Regions from separate parts of the Homo sapiens genome. Here all the other regions are linked to region 1. Evidence: promoter capture Hi-C in human tissues and cell types (Jung and others, 2019). All regions are on one chromosome and are shown on one strand. Each heading gives the region's core, a stretch centred on a gene start or on the middle of the fragment in contact. The rest is flanking DNA. Distances are from core to core; before and after follow the strand shown. Region 1 holds the start of COL6A1 (collagen type VI alpha 1 chain). Region 2 holds the start of FTCD (formimidoyltransferase cyclodeaminase). Region 3 overlaps PCBP3 (poly(rC) binding protein 3).

Region 1 (3,592 bases), core at 677-3,176:
CAGTGGCAGGTAAATTGACTGTACAGTAAGTGTACAAGGCCAGGCACGGTGGCTCATGCCTGTAATCCCAGCACTTTCGGAGGCCGAGGCAGGAGGACCACTTGAGTCCAGGAGTTCGAGACCAGCCTGGGCAACATCGTGAGACCCCCATCTCTACAAAACATACAAAATTAGCTGGGTATGGTGGCACATGCCTGTGATCCCAGCTACTCGGGAGGCTGAGGTGGAGGGATCACCTGAACCCAGGAGACTGAGGCTGCAGTGAGCTGTGATGAGGCCACTACGTTCCAGCCTGGATGACAGAGTGAGCCCCTTAGATAATAATAATAATAATAAGGAGGAGGAGGAGGAGGAGGAGGAGGAAAAGAAGGAGAAGTACTTTACAACTTCTGTAACGTAGGTGTGGGGAAAATATTGAAGGCAATCCAAAAACAGTCACTGTGGAGTTGTGGAATTAAGTATCAATTTTAAAGGTTTTTTCAAATGTTTCTTTAACATGGTTTTTGGTATGAACAATTTGTGTACGTTTTAAAATTATAAGACATTTAGGCTGGTGTTAGGCAAGTCTCAGCAGCTCCAGCTTTGGGAAAGCTCTTCTGGGACCTTCTGTGGGCCAGGGATGCATCTGGCCACATCTGGAGCCCACCCCCAGGTGATATCAGGGACAGCCCCTCTCTCCTCTCTCTGTCTCTCTTTCTGTCTCTCTGTCTCTGTCTCTCTGTCTCTGTCTCTCCGTCTCTGTCTGTCTCTCCTCTCTGTCTCTCTCTGTCTCTGTCTCTCTGTCTCTGTCTTTGTCTCTCTCTGTCTCTCCTCTCTCTGTGTCTCTGTCTCTGTCTCTCTCTCTGTCTCTCTCTGTCTGTCTCTCTGTCTCTCTCTGTCTCTGTCTCTCTCTGTCTGTCTCTGTCTCTCCTCTGTCTCTCTGTGTCTGTCTCTCTGTCTCTGTCTTTCTGTCTCTCTCTCACTGTCTCTGTCTCTCTCTGTCTCTCTGTCTCTGTGTCTCTCTGTCTCTGTCTCTCACTGTCTCTCTCTCTGTCTCTGTCTCTCTGTCTCTCTGTCTCTCTGTGTCTCTCTGTCTCTGTCTCTCTGTCTCTGTCTCTCCTCTGTCTCTCTGTGTCTCTCTCTGTCTTTCTGTCTCTCTGTCTCTCTCTGTCTCTGTCTCTCTCTCTGTCTCTGTCTCTCCTCTGTCTGTGTCTCTGTCTGTCTCTCTGTCTCTGTCTCTCTGTCTCTCTCTCACTGTCTCTCTCTGTCTCTCTGTCTCTGTCTCTCTGTCTCCACACACAGCATATATAACAACTATATTGTGAGCAACTTTGTCTTCCCACGGTACAAACTGAAATATCTTTGGCAAATACGTATCCGACTATACTGTGAAGAAATATTGACGTGAAAAAAGAACGCGGAGATCTGATAAAGCAACAATTCAGCTCACGGCGAGGTCCTCTGCAGGAGGCGGTTGGTGGGAAGAGGCGAGTGAGCCTGCCCGTGCGTCCCGCATGGAGACGTCTGGATTGGAAACTACCGAAAGATGTTTCAAGGAACTCTCCCTGGGTGACACGCTGGTTTTCAGACGTTTGATTCAGCTGCTGCAGTTTCCTCCTCCCTGACACGGGAACTGAACTGCAGGCCGCGGCGAGCCAGCCAGGGAAACCGCCTTCTCCCTGGGCTCGGAGCTGCTGCCGGTTCTGGAGGGAGAGACCCCAGCAAGGAGGTGGTGACTCATGGGCCGCTCCTCCCCGCCCCGCCCCGCCCCTCCCCTCCCGCCCCGCCCCTCCCCTCCCGCCCCTCCCCTCTCCTCCCGCCCCTCCCCTCCCCTCCCCTCTCCTCCCGCCCCGCCCCTCCCCTCCCCTCCCGCCCCTCCCCTCCCCTCCCGCCCCTCTCGCCCCGCCCCTCCCCTCCTTGCCCTCCGCTCTCACTCTGGCTGGGAGCAGAAGGCAGCCTCGGTCTCTGGGCGGCGGCGGCGGCCCACTCTGCCCTGGCCGCGCTGTGTGGTGACCGCAGGCCCCAGACATGAGGGCGGCCCGTGCTCTGCTGCCCCTGCTGCTGCAGGCCTGCTGGACAGCCGCGCAGGATGAGCCGGAGACCCCGAGGGCCGTGGCCTTCCAGGGTGAGTGGTGGCTTGGGGTGCAGGCTCCAGACCCCCCGCTCTTTGCTGCCGGCCAGGGCCAGATGCGCGGGGTCCCCTCCCACGCGTGGAACTGCAGACTGGGGGCCTGGAGCCCCTGAACCCCACTCCCCGCTCGGGGCGGCTGCAGCGCCCAGCTCTGCCCCACCGGGCCTTGGCCGGGGCCCCTAGAGGCTCAGCATTCAGCATTCTCAGCGGGGCCGGACCGCAGGCAGCTCGGGAGGGGCTCCCTGGCGAGGGGGAGCTGGTGCGGGGCTGTCTCGGCGCCCCGTGAATCCGTTTGACCCCTCACCTGGCAGTGAGTCCAGACGCACGGCCCCCCCGACCCCCGTTCTAGAAGAAGTCGTGCGCTGCTGGTTCTGAATCCAGCGAGAAACCTTCCCGTGAGGTCTCACTTGTCCGGTCCCGTGCCGGGGACGCCCTGCCCTTCGGGGGAGGTTGTGAAGGTTTCTGACTCCCCTCGAGGCACAGGAGCGGTTTGGGGTCTCTCACTCCACCCCCTCCCCACCGTCCCCACCGAGGGACGTCCTGCTGCCTTTTCCCGGGAGAGCCTCTCCGGGCCCGGGGCTCTGTGCTGCAGGCGCTGGGCTGGCCGGGAGGGCAGGCCCAGCAGAGACTCGGGGAATGGGGCGAGAGCTTGAAGGCCCCTCTCCTCCATCTTCGGCCAGACTGCCCCGTGGACCTGTTCTTTGTGCTGGACACCTCTGAGAGCGTGGCCCTGAGGCTGAAGCCCTACGGGGCCCTCGTGGACAAAGTCAAGTCCTTCACCAAGCGCTTCATCGACAACCTGAGGGACAGGTAGGAGGGACGCCCCGTGACCTTCCTCCTGTGCTTCTGGGCCTCTTGGAGGGAGGGGTGGGGGCCCAGGGGAACACGGGTGCGACGGCCTCAACCTCCTAAGGTTGGGCGAGCGTTGCCCTGACCGGGGCCCCTCCCGGCGCCCTCCAGAGTGAGGCCGGGGCCCTTTCCGGCGCCCTCCAGAGTGAGCTGGTCTGAGCCTCTCCCAGCGCCTTCCAGAGTGAGCTGGTTTGAGACCCTGCTCGCGGGGGTGGCACCTGTTCAGCAGGGCCGAGGTGACAGTGAGGCTGAGATGTAGGGAAGAGAGGCTCCCGCAGGCTGACCGAGAGGGCTCAGCGCACTGGCCCAGACACGCAGTCCTGCCTGGTGCGCGGGAGCCCCTCACTAACCACCTGGACCCTGGTTTGTTCCGTGGGCAGTGAGAGCCTCTACCTGGGTCCTGGATCCCACGTTCTGAAGGTCCCCGACTCGGGAGCCAGGAGGGGTGTCGCTCTGCAGCCCCAGGGCCCCCAGGCTTGGTTCTGGGCTTGGGACACGGCACCCTCTGCTCCACGTTCCTCCATCTGTGCGTGTGGCTGAGGACAGACCGGGGGGAGAGGGGAGTCGGTCCTGTGGGTGCACAGGGCCGCTGAGGGGGGGGCATGTAGAACGGGGCTCCCCCACTGAGACGGG
Region 2 (3,592 bases), core at 318-2,817, 170 kb after region 1:
AGAGCCAGAGCCAGCCCCACTGGACCCCACGTTCCAAGCCTGGGCCCCGGGCCTACCCCCTCTCCCAGGACACCAGGACAGGGCTCGGCCCTGACATTCTGAGACACGGCAGCCACAGGAGAGCCCAGAGACCTCACCTTGGTGCCTGCTCATGTCGATAAGTCGGGAAGCTACCCGGGCAGCGTTGAGGGCCCCCTCCACCACGCACTCCGGCGGCCCCACGAAGGTGTACACGGTGCGGTTGGTGGAAGGGCCTGCGTCCACATCCAGCAGCACGCAGCCCGGGGTCTGTGTGATGGCTCCAGAGATGGCGTCGATCACCTGGGACACAGGCCCGGCCCCCACACCTCAGTCTCCCCGTTTGAAAGAAGGAAAAGGAGCTTGGAGGTGGCTGCACCCCGAGACACAAATGGGGGCTGAGGAGGCGGGCCAAGCCTTTGGGGGCTCTCCGACAAGCTGAGCTCCCACCGAAAGTGCCCGCACACAGCGGCCGCCCGGGAACCCTCACAGCAGCCACAGTCACTCCAGCCCAAGCACAGTCCCCACAAGGGGCTGCAGGTGGTGCCTCCAGGAGAGACTCACGGGCTCTGCTCCGACAGACAGATGCCAGAGACGTGGCCGGGGATCCAAGAAGGTGACCACAGGCGCAGGTCACAGAGGGGCCGGGACCCCCACCCCCGAGCAGGGGAGGGACAGATCACCAGCATGGGGGAGGGGCCTGAAGGGCCTAGAACCTTCCGGGTGGCAGGACTGCTGGGAGCAGGGGCTCAGCCCCAAATCTTGCCCTGTCCCAGGGCCTTGGTGCTGGCTGGAATCCCGGCATGACGAGGCCTCCCTGCACCCCTGCGGGTGACCCCTGTGGCCTGGTGCTGCGCTCTGGGAGGCCTTCCAGGTGGCCCTTAGGGCCTGCGTTTGTTCCCGGAGGAGCCTGGACCTCAGGGCTGTGGAAGGCGAGAGGCCGGACCTGGGGGCCTGCTGCCCCCTCTGTGCCTACTTCGTTTTGGGTCCAGTGAGGATGGTGGCTGCAGGGTGGGGGCTCAGCAAGCTAACTCCAGTGGAGATGGAGAGGCGGCAGTGGGGACCATGCTGGGCCACCTCGTGTGGCCTCACACAGCCCTTTCAGTCAGTGGCAGGAGCCCCATTTTCAGGGGGGAGCACCAAGGCCCTTTGAGGCCCAGAGATCTGCCCAACCCCCCACCGAAAGCACCCGAAAGGCCCCTGAAGCCACAGCCAAGCCTCAGCCCCCACAAGCACCAGTCGTGTTCCACCCACCCCTGGGTCAGGCACTCCCCAGGGCCCTGAGCCACGGGATGTCCTTGGGGCCCACGGGCAGCGGCTCTGCCCATCCTGGGAAGACGACCCGGGACACCAAGCCCACCACCTCCTCCATGGCCTGGGCCTTAGCCACTCAAGCTGCCCCATCAGCCCTAGATGCTTGACCAGCTCCTCGGGCCTCACCTCCTGGTTCTTCCCCTCCGAAAAGTTGGGGACGCATTCCACCAGCTGGGACATGGCCAGCACCTTGATCCAGATGCTCCTCTCTGGGCAGATGGAAGGACAGGGCCAGTGCTCCGCAGCCGCCGCCAGGGCCTTTATACGCTCACCGGCAGCACCTCCCCACCGGCTTCTCATTAACCAGCAAGGCACAAGGAGCAGTGGGGCCAAGGTCCCTGTGCAGCCGCGGAGTGGGGTGCTGCAGAGCCACCCCGGGTGCTGTTGACCCAGAGGGGATGGCTCCACTCAGCCAGAGTGTGGGTTCCCGGAAAAGAAGCACATGCCAGGGTGAAGGGGCATGTGCCGAGGACCCCCAGGAGCATCAGGCCAGCCTGGCTGGAATCCTGTCGTGACGAGGCCTCCCTGTGCCACTGCGGGTGACCCTCGTGACCCTGTGCTGCCTTCTGGGAGGCCTTCCAGGCAGCCCGTGGGGCCTGCGTTTGTTCCTGGAGGAGCCTGGACCCCTGGGGCTGTGGAGGGCGAGAGGCCAGCATGAGGCCCTGGCTCGCAGCACCCAACTGAGGTCAGCTCAGCTCAGACAGGAGAGTGCAGGGGAGCACGCGTGTGAGAGTGAGTGAGGATACACGTGAGGGCAGGGCAGGGGAACACGTGAGAGTGCAGATACACGTGAGCACAAGGCAGGGGAGCACATGTGTGAGAGCGTGGATACATGTGAGCACAGGACAGGGGAACACGTGTGAGAGTGAGCGAGGATACATGTGAGTGTGGGGTAGGGGAGCACACGTGTGAGAGTGCAGGTACACGTGAGCATGGGGCAGGGGAAGCAAGCATGTGAGAGTGAGTGCAGATACATGTGAGCGCAGGGCAGGGGAACACGCGTGTGAGAGTGCAGATACACACGAGACGGGCATGTGCGATATGGGGGAAGGCAGCTGAGACCCCAGCTCTCCCCAGCTGCTGCTCCCCTGACTACAGGCTCCCCACGAAGTCAGCGGCACCAGGGCCGTGCTCAGAAGGGAGAACTCCTGTCTCCACGTTCAGCCGCTGCCCACTTGCAGTGCTTTTATCATTTTCTCTTTTTTTTTTTTTTGAGACAAAGTCTCACTCTGTCAGCCAGGCTGGAGTGCAGCGGCACAATCATGGCTTCCTGCAGCCTTGGTCCCCAGGCTCAAGAGGTCCTTTCACCTTAGCCTCCTGAGCATCTGGGCCACAGGCACACACCACTACACTGGCTAACTTTTCCATTTTTGGTAGACATGGTGATATGGTTTGGCTGTGTCCCCACCTAAATCTCATCTTGAATTGTAGAGCCCATAGTTCCCACGTCATGGGAGGGACCCGGTGGGAGGTCACTGAATCACGGGGGCGGCTTTTTCCGGTGCTGTTTTTGTGATAGTGAATGGTCTCACGAGATCCGATGGTTTTATAAAGGGCAGTTCCCCTGCACACACCCTCTTGTAAGACGTGACTTTGCTCCTCTTTCACCTTCCACCATGATTGTGGAACTGTTGAGTCCATTAAACTGCTTTTTCTTTAAAAATTACCCAGTCTTGCGTATGTCTTTATCAGACAAATACACATGAGGTCTCACCACGTTGCCCAGGCTGGTCTCAAACTCCTGGGCTCAAGCGATCCTCCTGCCTCGGCCTCCCAAAGTGCTGGAATTACAAGTGTGAGCCACTGAGCCCAGCCCCACTTGAAGTTCTTTTTTTTTTTTTTTTTTTTTTTTGAGACAGGGTCTCGCTCTGTCGCCCAGGCTGGAGTGCAGTGGTGCGATCTTGGCTCACTGCAAGCTCTGCCTCCCGGGTTCACGCCATTCTCCTGCCTCAGCCTCCAGAGTAGCTGGGACTACAGGCACCCGCTACCACACCCAGCTAATTTTTTGTATTTTTAGTAGAGATGGGGTTTCACCATGTTGGCCAGGATGGTCTCGATCTCTTGACCTCATGATCCACCCACCTCGGTCTCCCAAAGTGCTGGGATTACAGGCGTGAGCCACCCACTTGAAGTTCTTAATGGAACCCCAACCATGTGGGCCTTAGGGACCCCACCTCCGTGGCTACTCAGGGGGACTGGGATGAGACAGGAGCCAGGTAAGCCCAGAAACCTTCAGAGGCTGGGAGCACACAGAGTTCCC
Region 3 (3,592 bases), core at 820-3,319, 140 kb before region 1:
TGTGCAGAAGTGAATCTTCATTGTGTATTTCTGAGATACTTGAGGACTTAGGCCCTTCAGTATGGCTTAAATTTCCAGTGAACTCCTTAATAGTTCTTTTTTGTTGTGTTGTGTTGTGTTTTCTTGTTGCTTTCCTGGAACTTGGAGACTACAAGTACGATTTGGAGTTTCTCCATTTGCTCTCAGGATATTCACCTAGATTCCCACTTGGTGTGAGAAATCATAAATTCAATTGCTTTAATTGTTGTAGGGATATTGAGATTGTCTGTTTCATTTTTTATTTTGTTTGTTTGTTTGTTTGTTCGTTCTCCATATCGCCTACTTATTTGTTCAGGCTTTTTTGGAAACTTGGTTTGAGCCTGTCTATAGAAAGCTCAGTGAAGCTGCTTTAAAATCCTGGTAAGGGAATTCTAGCATCTCTGTTATCTCAGTGTTGGCCTCTGTTGATTTTCTTTTCTCTTTCATGTTGAGGTATGCCTAATGTTTGGCACGACACATAATTTTTGTTTGTGTCCTGGAAGTATAGGTTATTATGTTATGATAGTCTGAATCTTACATCAATCTTCTGTTTCGGCCTCTGTTGACACCATGGGGAAGGGATGTCTTGTTACCAGCAAGCTAGGGTGGAGATCCAGGCTCCTCCCTGGATCCTGGGGACACCACCGGTGGGGAGAAGGGTGCTTGGTACTGCTGGGTGGGAGTGGAAGCCGAGGCTCTCAGCTCAGCCCCTCTGACCGGGCAGGGTGCTGTGTGCGTCCTGTCCTGTGCATGGAGCAGGGCAGGTATTCTCAGATGCTTTCTGACCTAATAGGTTCCTCCTTTCCCATCCCTTTCCCTAGAGAGAATTTTCTTGAGACTGTTTTTTTCCAGTGTGTATCCTTTGGCATTTTTCAGTTGCTTTTCCAGTGCCCTGTCTGAAATATAGAGGAGGAAGCACAAACAAAACGAACAAACAAATAAGAAACCCAAAGAATAGCGAACTCACCGCTGTGTCATTCTCCAAATCCCAAGGGCCCAGCCAGTCCCCCTTCTTCCCTCCAGCTTTCAGGGTTCTCTTCTGTTTGTTCCACATGTAATGTCCAGAGTTGTTGGCTGTGCTCAGCAGGAAGAATAGGGAGAGAGGTGTCTATTCCATCCTGTCCAGAACCAGAAGGCATGGCTTCCTTTACGTGACTACTATCCCCTGTGCCTTCGCAGTTGTTTTTCTTGATTAATCTCATCAGAGGGTTGTATATTATTTAGACTTTAAGAACCAAATTTTATATTTACTGATCTTCTCAGTTGCCTTTGTTTCTTTGCTTAACTTCTGAACTTTTCTTTATTATTACCTTTCCACTTTCTGTGGATACTTTCTGTTCTTTTTCTAACTTTTTAAATGGGATTCGTGACTCACTAATTTTGTGTTTCTTTACTCCTTTTAAAAGCTATAAACTTTACTGTGAGTTCTGTTGCAGCTGTTTGCTACAAATTTTGGCATGCAATAATTTTATTATTGTTGAGGTCTGTTTTCTGATCTCATCTATTTCTTATCTGGAAACATTTAAAAAGTGTTTTGTCCAAGGGAATTGTAAAGTTATCTTTTGCTAATGATATTTAATTGCCTACTGAGTAGGAGATATGTTCTGTGGACTCCATGTTTTCAACATTTGTTGAAACCTGCAATATGAACTAAAACGTTATCAATTTTTGTTTTGTTCTCTGAGAGCCTTAGGAGAATGTGTTACCTCTGCTTGTCAGGTACAGGGTTTTATATACACACAGACACACATACGCACTATCATGTTGTTTGTGCTGTTAATATATTCTGCATCTTTATTACTTTTGTGGGGTATACTTGTGTGAACTGTAAAGGAGAGAGGTATGTTGGCATCTCCCACCAGTTGGGCGATTTGGGGCCTGTGACCTCTGACCTCACTGCTCCTTCTTGTAGCATTCTTCCTCCATTAATGCTCGTCTCTCTCCTTGACCTTCTTTCAGTCTTTCTTCTCAGTGTTTCTACCCAAAATTGCAGGCCCCAGCTCCAGCAGTCTGGTTGCGGACAAGGCCGTGCTTGTTTTTCATTGGGCTGGTCTGTCCAGCTCCAAGGCTGCCCTTTGAGCCGGACGATTGACCCACTGCATTAGGAAATGCTTTGCCGTCTTGGTGAGAGCCCCACTTTAGGGAGGTCTTGCACACTGCTGCATGGAGCATAGACACGTTGGGTGGGAGGTGCCCCAGCACCTAAGGACTCTTATGATTGGGTGGCAGGGGTGGGTGGTGCTGCCCTGCCCTCCAGAGCCCTTCACATGGTCCAGATGTCACCCAGCGCAAGGTGAGGGAGCCCTGGGGTCACATTCTCCACCCTCCCTCCAGCATTGTTGCAGCCGCAGGACACCTGCCAGGGTAGAATTCAGCGTGGCTGGAGGATTTTGTGTGGCAGAAGTAATGGAGATGGTAGGCAGGCTGGTCTCCCCGCTCCTCTGTGAGCACTGTGTGTTGGTGCTCCCTGCCAATGGTGCTCCCCGCGGCATGGTTCCACGCGCACCACAAGGGCAGCGTGGCTTCCTCATCTTAGATGTGACAGAATGGAGATAGTTCTGGGTGTTAGCCCACAAAAGTGGCAACGTTAGGGTCCAAACTCTGGTACATATGAAACCATGGTTCTTCTTTCTTCCTCTCCAGGCAGATTCATAAGAAGAAGACTGGGTCTGAGTTTATATACATATATATAAAGTTATATATAAACTTCATATACGTATATAAAGTTATAACTTTATATACGTATATGAAGTTTATATACGTATATAAAGTTTATATATATGCTTTATTTATATATATAGTTTACATATATATATGCTTTATTTAAGGTTGAACAAAATTTTGCATTCATCAGAAGCTTCCTTTTATGAATTCTTAGACTTTTTTACTGGGTACCCCAGAGATTTAAGGTATCAGCTTGAATATCTTCTAAACTGTTCTCCCTAAAAGGACCATACCTGGATTCTCAAGGAGTCCACCTCCGGAGGGGTCACTGACAGTTCTGCTCTCTTATGCCTTTTGTTCATCTTAACCAGCCTTGGTTAGCAAGGGGCACCTGCCACCAGATGATCTCTTACCAAGTCATGGTTTCCTGTCTGAAGCGGTTTCCCTGATGCTGAGAGGCATGAGGAGAATGTTACAGAGAGACAGCATGCTGCCTTGTGATTGTCTGAGGTTTGAAACCTTCTGGTGAAGCTGAAACCATTTCTTAAGAGCCTGGCTAATGCTGTGAGCTGCTTAAGCACCCGTGTGCACATGTGTGTAAGTGTGTGCCTTTGCCATGTGTATGCATGTGAGCTGCTTAAGCACCTGTGTCCACACGTGTGAGTGTGTGCCTTCACCTGTGTATGTGTGTGTGTGAGCTGCTTAAGCACCCGCGTGTACACGTTTGTGAGTGTGTGCCTTTGCTGTGTGTATGCATGTGTGTGAGCTGCTTAAGCACCCGTGTGCACACGTGTGAGTGTGTGCCTTTGCCGTGTGTATGCATGTGTGTGAACTGCTTAAGCACCCGTGTGCACATGTGTGAGTGTGTGCCTTTGCCATGTGCATGCATGTGTGTGAGCTGCTTAAGCAC

Evidence for each region. The method cuts DNA at HindIII sites, captures the fragments that hold promoters and counts their contacts. A contact is called where the count stands out against the background at its distance.
Region 2: the fragment with the promoter of FTCD here is called in contact with the fragment with the promoter of COL6A1 in region 1 in 3 of the 25 tissues and cell types used here (IMR-90 fibroblasts, mesenchymal stem cells and mesendoderm cells).
Region 3: a fragment that was not itself captured here is called in contact with the fragment with the promoter of COL6A1 in region 1 in 4 of the 25 tissues and cell types used here (H1 embryonic stem cells, IMR-90 fibroblasts, dorsolateral prefrontal cortex and 1 more).

Annotation. Positions count from the first base shown.
Region 1 is chr21:45,979,844-45,983,435 of GRCh38, forward strand. It overlaps COL6A1 (collagen type VI alpha 1 chain), which reads left to right and starts at 1,927. Exons shown (of 35, transcript NM_001848.3): 1 at 1,927-2,104; 2 at 2,791-2,920. The coding sequence starts at 2,008. It overlaps LOC105372841 (a long non-coding RNA gene), which reads left to right. Exons shown (of 3, transcript XR_937803.3): 2 at 1-9; 3 at 1,447-1,723. RefSeq lists enhancers at 1,685-2,547, 2,548-3,408. The HindIII fragment of the contact is 42,283 bases long and covers 1-3,592 here.
Region 2 is chr21:46,154,012-46,157,603 of GRCh38, forward strand. FTCD (formimidoyltransferase cyclodeaminase) reads right to left here and starts at 1,568. Exons shown (of 14, transcript NM_206965.2): 1 at 1,459-1,568; 2 at 138-321. The coding sequence starts at 1,512. RefSeq lists enhancers at 1-637, 638-1,341. The HindIII fragment of the contact is 26,017 bases long and covers 1-3,592 here.
Region 3 is chr21:45,842,108-45,845,699 of GRCh38, forward strand. The region is part of intron 4 of PCBP3 (poly(rC) binding protein 3); the gene reads left to right. Among named protein-coding and RNA genes, the nearest start is that of PCBP3-AS1, 7.5 kb to the left of the region's middle. The HindIII fragment of the contact is 8,875 bases long and covers 1-3,592 here.